Regions from separate parts of the Homo sapiens genome. Here regions 1 and 2 are each linked to region 3. Evidence: promoter capture Hi-C in 16 types of primary human blood cells and fetal thymus (Javierre and others, 2016). All regions are on one chromosome and are shown on one strand. The core of a region is centred on a gene start or on the middle of the fragment in contact, and the rest is flanking DNA. Distances in the headings are between cores, read along the strand shown. Region 1 overlaps LOC107985000 (a long non-coding RNA gene). Region 2 has its middle 18 kb from the start of LRRC37A3. Region 3 holds the start of RGS9 (regulator of G protein signaling 9).

Region 1 (3,809 bases), core at 28-2,527, 180 kb before region 3:
AGGCTTCTGAATGGGATGGTCGCCTGGGTGAGGGGCTTATGTCTAGGAAGGATGCTGTTAACGGACGCCATGCTCTCTTCCAGGTTTGTTGGTGGACCAAAGTAAGATCTACAGCAGGGCCTTCTACTCCTGCGCAGCTGGCATGGCCCTGGCTGCTGTGTGCCTCGCCCTGGTGAGACCGTGTAAGATGGGACTGTGCCAGCATCATCACTCAGGTGAAACAAAGGTAGTGAGCCATCGTGGGAAGACTTTACAGGACATACCTGAAGACTTTCTGGAAATGGATCTTGCAAAAAATGAGCACAGAGTTCACGTGCAAATGGAGCCGGTATGACACACTTTCTTACAACAACAGCCACTGTGTTGGCTGGAGAGGGATGGGGTGGGCCCAACGGAGACACAAGGAGGTAGAGGAGCTAACCCCTCTACTCCACTTTCAAAACTACATTTTAAAGGGAATGTGTATGTGAAGAGCACTACCAACATCGCTTTTGTTTTAAGTTTTCCTTTTTGCTTGTTTTTAAAGCCAAAACAAAAAACAACCAAGCACTCTTCCATATATAAATCTGGCTGTATTCAGTAGCAATACAAAAGATATGTAGAAAGACTCTTTGGTTCACATTCCAATATTAAAATAGTGACACGAACTGGCAAAGTGGTTTTAAAAGCTTTCACATGGGATAAATGATTTTCTTTCTTTCTTTTCTTTCTTCGTATGGTCTTGTCAGAATAAACTACTATCTTGAATAAAACAACATCCAACCCAGGTCATTGAAATGAAATTGGCCAGTCAAAAAAAAAAAAAAAGACTTCAATCATTTAAAAAATTCCTAATTTTCAGAAATATGAATAAATGGTTTTTGTTAAACCCTTTGTAAAATACTGAGGTTCCCATTAACAAATTATGGCTTCTGCTTGCTGGAAATGAAGTATAGTTTAAGACCAAACATTTTACTAATAAGCAAATTTTAAGTACATATATAACTTGAACTTCATAAATGTGAAGATTACCACTTCTTTTTATGGCCAGTCCTTACCAGAAGTGTTTCAGTACAGAATATACAAAATGGCATTTAAAAATGTGTTTCCTGTTGCTTTTAGTTATACAGAAATATGTGACTGTAGTGTCTTTAATTTAAACCGCTATTTATTATTAAGTTATTCTAGGATGATTAATCAAAAGAAATAAAATCTGAGACATAAGCAGCATTTTTACCTCCTTTCTGCAGTCCTTTAAATGCCTCACAGAATACGTCTTATCTTGTAAAAAATACTTTCATAAAAGGCCAAGTTGTCATGATTCTTCCATTTGATTAAGGGCAACATGTGCTATTTAAAGGGGAAAAAATAACGGATAGCAAATCACCTTAGCTTTCAAAAATAATTTGTTTTATCATCTAAGAATACTTGAGGAACTTCTTTGATCAGAATTATATTTCATTGAACTGTTAAAGCATTTCTGATTTAAAGAAAAAACCATCTAATTGTTGAAGCATTTCTGTATTTCACATGGGGGTAACAGAGACATTTATGTTATAGCGAGTTACAAGTTGCAATTTACATCTTCTATAACTCACAACTTGATTGTTCTAAGTTGCCAGAGGTATCGGGTAACTGGTCATTGTTTTTTTGTTGTTGTTGTTGTTGTTTGTTTTATTTTTTATTTTTGGAGTCACACTACATGTATAGTATTGCTCACGTTACAGTTTTCTGTAAAGAGGACAAGTGTCAGGATAATAGGTGGACTTTTTACTCACCTATTTTACTGCAATCTCACCCTGCAGGTGACGGTCAATGCTCGCTGCTCCATCTTTACTCATCATTAATGTTAATTTATGACAACTCGGGGGAAAAACATAACAAGCCTAGTTTGGTTACAGGTACACACAAGCTTGAATATTTCTCTGCACTGAAATGAAAGTGGCATAGTTCATCACCACCTGCTACATTTTGTAGAGCATCTTACCAGCCATAGAAATAGGACAATCTATAAAACTTTGGGGAGGGTGGGGGAGGAAATGACACAGTGTCTGTCAAAAACAGGCATAATCTAAAACAAGGTGGATATAGCAAATCTCTGCCACTGCTTGAGAAGAACTTTGAGCTTGTGGCAGTTTTGCAGACTTACATGACTTCAGCACTTTACAACGTATTTTTACTATGAATGTTCAATACAATTTAATATTTATAACTGATTTCAGAGGGATCTGCTCCATGTCTATTCTGTTACCTGCATGAAAAGAGAATGCATGCCAATTTCAGTATGTCAATAATCAAGGTTTTAAATGTTTGGAAGAAAATAAAAACAAGATTGCTGATTTGTTCTGTATTAGTGACATTCTGGTACTTCTAGATTTGCAATACATTTATGGCTTTTTTATTTAAAGATACTGATTTTCTTCTGTTATAAGATTTTTTTATTGACTCTCACAGCATTCAGTATTTGATGCAATTAAAGTTATAAAAACTCACCAAAGATTCACTCCAAATAAATAATTTTTTAACGTTTATCTTCTGCAAAACCTTTTAACTCTACTAGAGACACATAAAGTTTCCCAAGAAGTGTCTACTGAACTTTTTATTTATTTATATTTACTAGTATTTTTTTTTGAGATGGAGTTTCACTCTTGTTGCCCAGACTGGAGTGCAATGGCACAATCTCAGCTCACTGCAGCCTCCCAGGTTCAAGTGATTCTCCTGCCTGAGCCTCCCGAGTAGCTGGGATTACAGGTGCCCGCCACCACGCCTGGCTAATTTTGTGTATTTTTAGTAGAGATGGGGTTTCACCATGTTGGCCAGGCTGGCCTCAAACTCCTGACCTCAGGTGATCCACCTGCCTCGGCCTCTCAAAGTGCTCGGATTACAGGTGTGAGCCATCGTGTGTGGCCTGAACTTTTAAATCATTTTTTCTGGTCATTGAAAGCAGGACAATTTTATTTTATGTTGAGTTTTTCATGCAAATTACAGCACCTTAGAAAAAGACTAAATAATTCAAGGGAAATATTAAGTAATGAATAACAGGAGAGCGAAATAAAAATTAAACAATATAATCAAATGAAGAAGCATGTTTTCATCTAAGAATTAAGAATGAAAGCAGCGATGGTATTTAATTATTAATGAAAAATACATGAATGAAATGATATCATGGTAGCCAGAGTAAGCCTATCAAAAGTCATAACGGCAAATAGTTAAAGACTACAACCAGTTACAGAATCGTTCCAAGAACTGTTGCAACCTGTAAGTAAACAGCACAGACTCTACATGCCAGGGTTTGGCAAACTTTTTCTGTAAAGGTCCAGATAGTAAATATTTAAAGCTTTGCAGGCCATGAGGCCTCTGTCTAGTCAACTCTGCCATTGAGGGTCAAAAGCAGCCACAGACAATATATAAATGAATGAATGTGGCAATGTTTCAATGGAATTTTATTTATGGATACTGAAATGTGAATTTCACAAGATTTTCATACAGGAAATATATATTTTTTCAATCACATAAAAATGTTAAACACACACACACACACACACACACACAATTAGCTCTCAAGCTGAAAAAAAAAAAATTCTAGCTCCTTCACCACATATCTGTAACACTGGCACAGATCAGTACCACCAGAAGCAAAGCTCTGAAAACTAACAGTCCTGACTCATGGGAAAGGATTCATTGTGGTCAAAGTAATTCTTAGATCATAACTGCCCCAAAATAGGAAAGATCAAGCAGCTAACACTTTTTCGTTGTTGTTGTTTTGAGACAGAGTCTTGCTCTGTCACCCCGGCTGGAGTGCAGTGGCACGATCTTGGCTCACTGCAACC
Region 2 (3,631 bases), core at 226-2,725, 200 kb before region 3:
ACATCCCATTCCTGAGCACCAAAGGCCCCAGGCCCTGGGTAAGAGAAGCTTCCTAAAGGGCATCCTGAGGGCCCCGCCCTGATCACCTCTTCTTTGGAGAATTTCAGGAGGGAGGCTGGCATGGGCCAGACAACTGGCTGGACAGGGAAGAGGTGGGAATATCTGGACCTCGCCTGCCTCTCGCCACACTCCCCGCTTCCCTCCTCACTGTAGCCAAAGTTCTCCCTGTGCTTTCCACCGACAGTTCATGGCCTGTGCGTGCTATTCCTTCTGTCTGGAACGCCCTTTTCCCCTTTGCTTCCCCTTTCTAATTCGTCATTTTTCAGGTCTCACCTTAGAAGTCACTTCCTCCAGGAAGTCCTTCCTGCCTTGTCCTCCTCTGATCTGGGCTGGATGTAAGCCTCTGTGCTTCCAGGACGTCCTGCCTCTCACCCTCACCCCCGGATGGAGTTGCTGGTTTTCCCACCTGTCTCCCTCTCACCCTCACCCCCGGATGGAGTTGCTGGCATTCCCACCTATCTCCCCTCTCACCCTCACCCCCGGATGGAGTTGCTGGCATTCCCACCTATCTCCCCTCTCACCCTCACCCCCGGATGGAGTTGCTGGCTTTCCAACCTATCTCCCTCTCACCCTCACCCCCGGATGGAGTTGCTGGCTTTCCCACTTGTCTTCCCTGCCAGGCCAGAGGCTTCCAGCGGGTCGGCCCTGGCTCTGCCCTGCTCAGTGTTGGAGCCCACATGCCTTGCCAGGTGTGCAGTGCTTAGTATGTTCTCAGTCCATGTTTTTGAGTGAACAAATAGATACGTGAAAAAAAACCCAAAATCACCCCCAAAAGATGTGATCATTTCCCAGGCCCAATGGGAAGATCTCTGCCCATGTTTCCTCCAAGTGGACGCCTTGCCCTGGGCACTGCCCCCGTGTGTGTGTGTGTGTGCACGACTGCCTGCATGTGTGTACATTTGTGTGCATGTGCATGTGTGTGCAAGTCTGTGCATTTGTGTGTACATTTATGTGTGTGGGTGTGTGTGCGCATGTGTATGTGTGTATTCATGTGTGTGTGTTCGTGTGTGTTCATGTGTATGTGTGTGTGTTCGTGTGTGTGTGTGTGTGTGTTCGTGTGCATGCACGTAAAGGGTGCTCACCTCCTCCTGAGCTCCTTCAGGGCACCGCTCCAGCACGGGCCCAGGTAATCCCCCAGGAGCTTTAGCTGCTCCCAGCTCCTCCCGATGAGGTGCATCCGCTCCACATGCTCGTACAGAGATGCGTTTGCCATCTGCAGGTTGATGAGGGGCTGGGCCCAGATCTGCATCAGAAACTTCAGGGCCTGCCTGCAGATCTGGGGGCACCACCAGGCATTAGGGATGGGAAGGAATCGCTGTTCAATGAGCACTGCCCGGCCAGGTGCCACATGACCTCCTCACTTACCTGAGGGGCTATCTTCATTTTACAGATGGGGAAACTGAGGCTCAGGGAGATGAGGGGATTTGGCTAGGGTCACCCAGCTTGTAAATGGTACAGTCAAGCTCTGAACCCAGTTTATCTGACTCCCAAACCCACTCTCCCTCTAAGGGCAAGGGTCGCTGCCCCCTCCCCAACCATGCTGAGATGAGGGAGGGACTGCTTTGGTTAACGCCCCCTCCCTCTGGGCCTCACAGATCAGGGTCTCTGGGTTCAGGAACCCTTGGAGCTCTTTCCCCAGAGTTGTTTCCTGGCCATGCCCATCCTATTCCTGGAGTCAGAGTGCCACAGCAGACACATCTGAGCCGAGGGCTCCCTGTGACCTTCCTCCCTCTCCCACAGAGGCAGCCTTCCAAGTTTTCTACCCCCGACTACACAGTGGAGCTGAAGAGCACCACTCTCTGCTGGGCCCCTAAAACAAATCCAGTAAGAAGAACGTGCTGGAGGTGAGTGGTGGGGGTGGGGAGAAGGAGGGAAGGGGCTTAGTGATGCCTGCCAGCCCTCTGAAACTAGTGACCTGGAAATGACCTGGGGGTTTTTGACCCTTAATTCCCTATGAGCCAACACTGAGTGCAGCTTTTGGCTGTATTAATAGAGGTAAGAGTCCAGAGCCAGAGAGGTGATATTGGTGCAGTTGCTGGCAGTGCTCTGGGACCCTTACTGTAGGCAAGCCCCAAGTAGGAGGACCTGGGAAGAATTGGGGCTACCATTCTCAGGGCTCAAGGCCAAAGCTGCATCCCCGCCCCAGGGGACCTGTCCTGTGTTTCTAGCATCACAGATTCTGCAGTTCCCCCTCCAGGAGCTGAGTTAATAATAATCCTTGCCCTGGAGGGTGGTGAGGAGTAGGGCCTCTGGAAGAGGAAATTCTCATGCCTAGAATGGCAGCCCTCGTCCCAGCCTGAGAGAGACAGGAGGCTCCGTGTCCTTGGCTGCTTACTGTGACAGGCCTGGTTGGGAAACCTCTTTCTCCCCAGGTGCCCTTCCCTGTCCCTGAGCCAAAGCCCCATTTCTGTCTGGACTGCATCCCCAGTGAATAAACCGGGGCAGTGGGCAAGACTACCAGGTTACCCCCACAGGAAGGGAGAGAAGACCCAGGATGGGTACTCCCAATGCCACACCCTTCACTGTCCACGTCTTATCTTGTTTTTAAACTACTCTTACCCTGACCTCAGTCCCTAGAAGGTTTGAGGCAGATCACAACAGAAACACACGTGGTGAACTGGCAAATTCACTGAAAAGCCAGGACCACAAAAAACAAGTTAGAGATGGGACTCAAGATGGAGAGGAATTAGGGGGCAGATGATGTACAGGTGCTAAGGTGTGGTTGCTGAAGAAAATTTAGCTCTGACTTTCCTGCTAGGTAAGGTGAAAAGAGAGGGGCTATCAGGTGCATGTCTCTTTGTTGTTGAAAAAATAATAAAACCCACCCAGATGTTGAGGGAATCAAAGCTTTTTCCTAACCCTTCGCTCTTAAATTTCTTGTGTGTAGCTCTGTGAACATGGGATCTAGAAGGACAAGTCAGGTACCCTGCAAAACACCTCCAGGGAGGTTTAATGGGGCTGCTTCAGGTGGCATTATTATGATGAAGGCCAGCAGCATGACCTCATGTCTCAGCTCAGAAAAAGCAATTCTGCAAAGAACCTGACTGTGTAGTTTCTTGATTATTCACCAAGCTCCATTCAGTTCTAGAACCAGGATATCTACAAAGCAAAGTTGGAAAACTGGTTTCATCTCATGAGCTACTCTGATGACTAGGTCTGGAGTCTTGTGGGGTTTTGTTTTTATTTTTTGTTTCTGTTTTTGTTTTTGTTTTTAGAGACAAGGGAGCTTGGGTTTCCTTTCTACCCAGCAGGCATGGCTCAGTGGCAGACACCAACCACTGGCATCTGGGTTGTATTTCATAATTTGCACAGTACTTGCAGAACCTTGTCTCATTTAAGCTTTGTAATAACCCCACAAAAATAGCTGGTAGTAGCTGAATTTTACAGACACTGAAATGGAAGCTTGAAGAAATTAGGTGAAGGTCAGGGTGAGGCAGCTAGTGAGCAGCAGAGCCCGCCCTCTGGTCCCAAGGCCCAGGGACCCTTCTGCCTGCCCCTGGGGGAGTCAGGGCCTTTGCCTTTTGCCCAGGGCACACCCACTGGCCGCTCCCACTGGCCCCCCGCTGTGGAG
Region 3 (3,640 bases), core at 945-3,444:
CTTAGGGTTTCTAGAGACAAGGGATGTTGAAGCTGGAAGGAACTTCATAGCTCATCTTGGTCAGATCCCAGCATGTGCTCTGTATAACACTAGGCTCAAAAGATGCTTCATGAGAAAAAAAATCAAGATATTCCAGCATTTTCTTTGGATTTAAACTCACACCAGGCTCAAAAGATGCTTCATGAGAAAAAAAATCAAGATATTCCAGCATTTTCTTTGGATCTCAGCTCACACCAGGAGCATACTTCTCAGTGGTTCAATTTGCTTGGCAGGATCTCTGGTCTTCTGCTTGGATGGATCTCTGCAGGGTCCAGCGTCCTCTAAATTGGAGGCTCTGAATCAGGGATTCCTGAAAAGGCACAAGAGAGGCCCAAGCATGAACCTCTTGAAATTGTTTGCAAACTTCAGTCAGTGTTGTGTACATGTGCATGTGTGTGTGTTCCTGAGTGTCCATAGCTTTCATCAGATTCTTACAGGTAAATATCACCCGAGAGAATGGATAAGAACCACTGCTTTTTTTTTTTTTTGAGACAGAGTCTCACTCTGTCACCCAGGCTGGAATGCAGTGGCTCAGTCTTGGCTCACTGCAGCCTCTGGGTTCAAGTGATTCTTGTGCCTCAGCCTCCTGAGTAGCTGGGATTACAGGTTGCTCCACCATGCTGATTGATTTCTGTATTTTTAATAGAGATAGGGTTTTGCCATGTTGGCCAGGCTGGTCTTGAACTCCTGACTTCAAGTGATTCACCCGCTTGGGCCTCCCAAAGTGCTGGAATTATAGGCGTGAGCCATCACACCCAGCCAAGAACCACTGCTTTAAAGGGACATTGGTTGACTGTGCCTTCCTAAGGTAAAGGCCTTCTTGTTTTCTTCCAACTTAAACATTTTATCTGCTACACTCAATAACCATCGAGTATGTTTAAGAGAAAGTGCTTTATATAACAAAGCAGAAAGGCTCTTGATAATAACTTAGAGGCTTCATCCTTGCATTTTTCTCAAGATGAAAACGCTAACATAATGAGCTGTCAAGGTAGGTTCATCAATTGTAACAAATGGGCCACTCCAGTGGAGGATGTTGATCATGGGGGACGCTGTGCGTGCGTGGGGAGAGGGGATATATGACGTGTCCCTATACCTTCCGCTCAATTGTGCTGTGAACCTAAAACTGCTCTAAGAAATAAAGTCTATTAAAACAAGCAAACCAGCCAGCTGCAGTGGCTCACTCCTGTAATTCCAGCACTTTGGGAGGCCGAGGTGGGTAGATCGATTGAGCCCAGGAGTTTGTGAAACTCCCTCTCCACAAACAATTTTTGTAAAAATTAGCGGGGTGTGGTGGCACGTGCCTGTAGCCCCAGCTACTGGGGAGGCTGAGGTGGGAGGATTGTTTGAGCCTGGGAGGTTGTAGCTGCAATGAGCCATGATTACGCCACTGCACTCCAGCCTGGGTGACAGAGCAAGACCCTGTCTCAAAAAAAAAGTTAAACAACAACAAACCCAACAACCAACTAACCGAAACACTAAGAATCAGAGAAGTAAAATATAATTCGCTTCATCCAGACAGCTAGCCCGGTGAGGACTACAACCTTCCTCTCTTCCTTCTTCACTTCTTTGCTCTCTCTTTTTAAACCCACATCTTAGCAATTCCTCTGCTATTGGGTCATTAAATCGCCACCTCTAATTTTTTTTTCTAAGCATTTATTGAGGGCCAAGCACTGTGTTACACATCTCCTCATTAAAATGGTATAGCAACCTTTTCTGGTCGATATTATGATCCCATTTTTCAATTTTTACTTTTGAGTGAAGGACATTGATTCTTAGAGATTGTAAGGAACTTGCCCAAGGCTGCCGGCTGGTTAGTGGCAGAGCTGGGATGGGAAAGTCCGTATTTTCCACCGCGCTGTATTAGTGAGGGCTCTTTGTGTCACTTCTGTGCATAACTCCGCCCCAAGTTAAAAGGCTCGCTGCTCTCGACAGGTCCTCCTCCTCCTCCCGCTAGGTCCTCCTCCTCCTCCCGCCAGGTCCTCCTCCTCCTTCTCCTCCCGGGGCCCTGCCCTGCGGGTCTCACCTGCTGCTCCGCGGGGTCCCGGCGGGGGCCGGATAGCGCCCCCTGGCGGCAGGTGGGCGCCCGCGCAGCGCATGCTAATGAGCCCGCGGCGCCGCTCGCGGATTGGCTGGCGCGGATTCCAGCTGCTTTCCAAGTCAGCGGCGCCTAGTGAGAGTCAGGGGGGCCCGGCCCGCGCCCTCCCCGCCCAGCCGCCTCCCCGTCGACGCCCAGGGCTGGGGCGAGCCAGGCTGCCTTTCGAACTTGGGGGGCTTCTCCTCTTGTCTCCCACTGGTGCTCTGGCTGTGAATCCATCCAGGGGCCAGGATGACAATCCGACACCAAGGCCAGCAGTACAGGCCGAGGATGGCATTTCTCCAAAAGGTAACCCTGGCCCCTCACCTGGACCCTGGGAGGAGGGCGGGGGACCGCATCTGCGAAGCGTCCGAGGACAAGAGGGGCAGGAGTGGAGAGCACCCCTTTGGGTCGATTTGTGCTGCTCGATTTTATTAAGTGACTTCTTTGCTGTGTGTGTCGATATTGATGGCTATAATAATTAGGTTTTCGTGTGCCCTGCCTGTAGTGGAGAATCTGAAGCCAGCGCTGATGGTCTGCGGGAGGTGAAAACAACCTGTTACTCGGGAGAGGCAGGTTCAGTTCAGGCTGTGGCAGATTTGAGACAGCCTGCTGATATTGTTGTAAGACGACCAGATGTGACATTGCCATTTTTGCCTTTTTTTTCTGATCCCAAACTGCACTATTTTAAAGTGTGTGTGTGTGTACACATAGACCATGAAAACGGGGTGATTTGTAGGATAAAGGGCCACCCCATTTACAATGCCCTGAGAGCCCTCATTTGAGTGTGTCTATCTGTGCATCTCCTGCTGTCTGCGCTGGCGGCAGAAGTCCCAACCTTTTCGCTTCCCTTGCGAATGCTTTCCCAGACAAAGTGACCGGGCACAGGGTGTGCACACAGGATGGACATGTGGGAGGTGGAATGCACCTGTGGGGTGATGTGTTTGGGGACAAAGTGGTTCATTTAGTTCTGAGCTTCTGGTATAATCACTGTCCGATGAGATCTACAGAGGATTAGGTCCCGGGTCACATCTTTGTCCTTCCTCCCACCCGTAGCCACTTTTCACAGCGTAGTGTCCATCTTCTTAGGCTTATCTTGTTGAGTAGAATTAGTTGAATGTTTTGTGACAAGCTGAGCTCTCCCTGAGCCCCTGGAGCTCAGCAAATTTGTATAGTCAGTGACCGCTGTCCTGATTTGCCCAGGACTTTCAATGCTAAAACCTGGACAGTCCTGGGGACCCCGAGACGGTCGCATTTGGTCCACCTGTTTCAAGATGCTCGTGCTCATCTTCCGGGTAGCAGAGGTGTGGGTATCATCTGTAAAGCAGACAGGCTGAATGTTGTCTCACTCAGAAAGAACCCTGAGAGCCTGTATTGCAGATACCAGTTACTAAAAGCAGAAGAAACTGCCTAAGTCGGCTATCTCAAAGCCACACATCATCTTCCAGGATTTATCCTAGGACTGTCTCCTCCCAGGCAGGACAGCTCTGGCTTGGGGGCTCAGAGGGTAATTGTCAAGAGATAAAT

What was found. The method cuts DNA at HindIII sites, captures the fragments that hold promoters and counts their contacts. A CHiCAGO score of 5 or more calls a contact.
Region 1: a contact is called between a fragment that was not itself captured here and the fragment with the promoter of RGS9 in region 3, in 4 of 17 cell types (naive B cells, total B cells, M0 macrophages and 1 more). The highest score is 7.6, in naive B cells.
Region 2: a fragment that was not itself captured here is called in contact with the fragment with the promoter of RGS9 in region 3 in 2 of 17 cell types (naive B cells and total B cells); the score reaches 7.8 in naive B cells.

What each region holds. Positions count from the first base shown.
Region 1 is chr17:64,956,216-64,960,024 of GRCh38, forward strand. LOC107985000 (a long non-coding RNA gene) reads right to left here. Exons shown (of 3, transcript XR_001752973.3): 1 at 977-3,809; 2 at 739-741. It also overlaps the pseudogene SLC16A6P1. Among named protein-coding and RNA genes, the nearest start is that of LRRC37A3, 39 kb to the left of the region's middle. The HindIII fragment of the contact is 1,223 bases long and covers 667-1,889 here.
Region 2 is chr17:64,935,344-64,938,974 of GRCh38, forward strand. No RefSeq gene overlaps it. Among named protein-coding and RNA genes, the nearest start is that of LRRC37A3, 18 kb to the left of the region's middle. The HindIII fragment of the contact is 2,859 bases long and covers 47-2,905 here.
Region 3 is chr17:65,135,176-65,138,815 of GRCh38, forward strand. It overlaps RGS9 (regulator of G protein signaling 9), which reads left to right and starts at 2,195. Exons shown (of 19, transcript NM_003835.4): 1 at 2,195-2,422. The coding sequence starts at 2,366. RefSeq lists a silencer at 1,885-2,384. The HindIII fragment of the contact is 12,932 bases long and covers 1-3,640 here.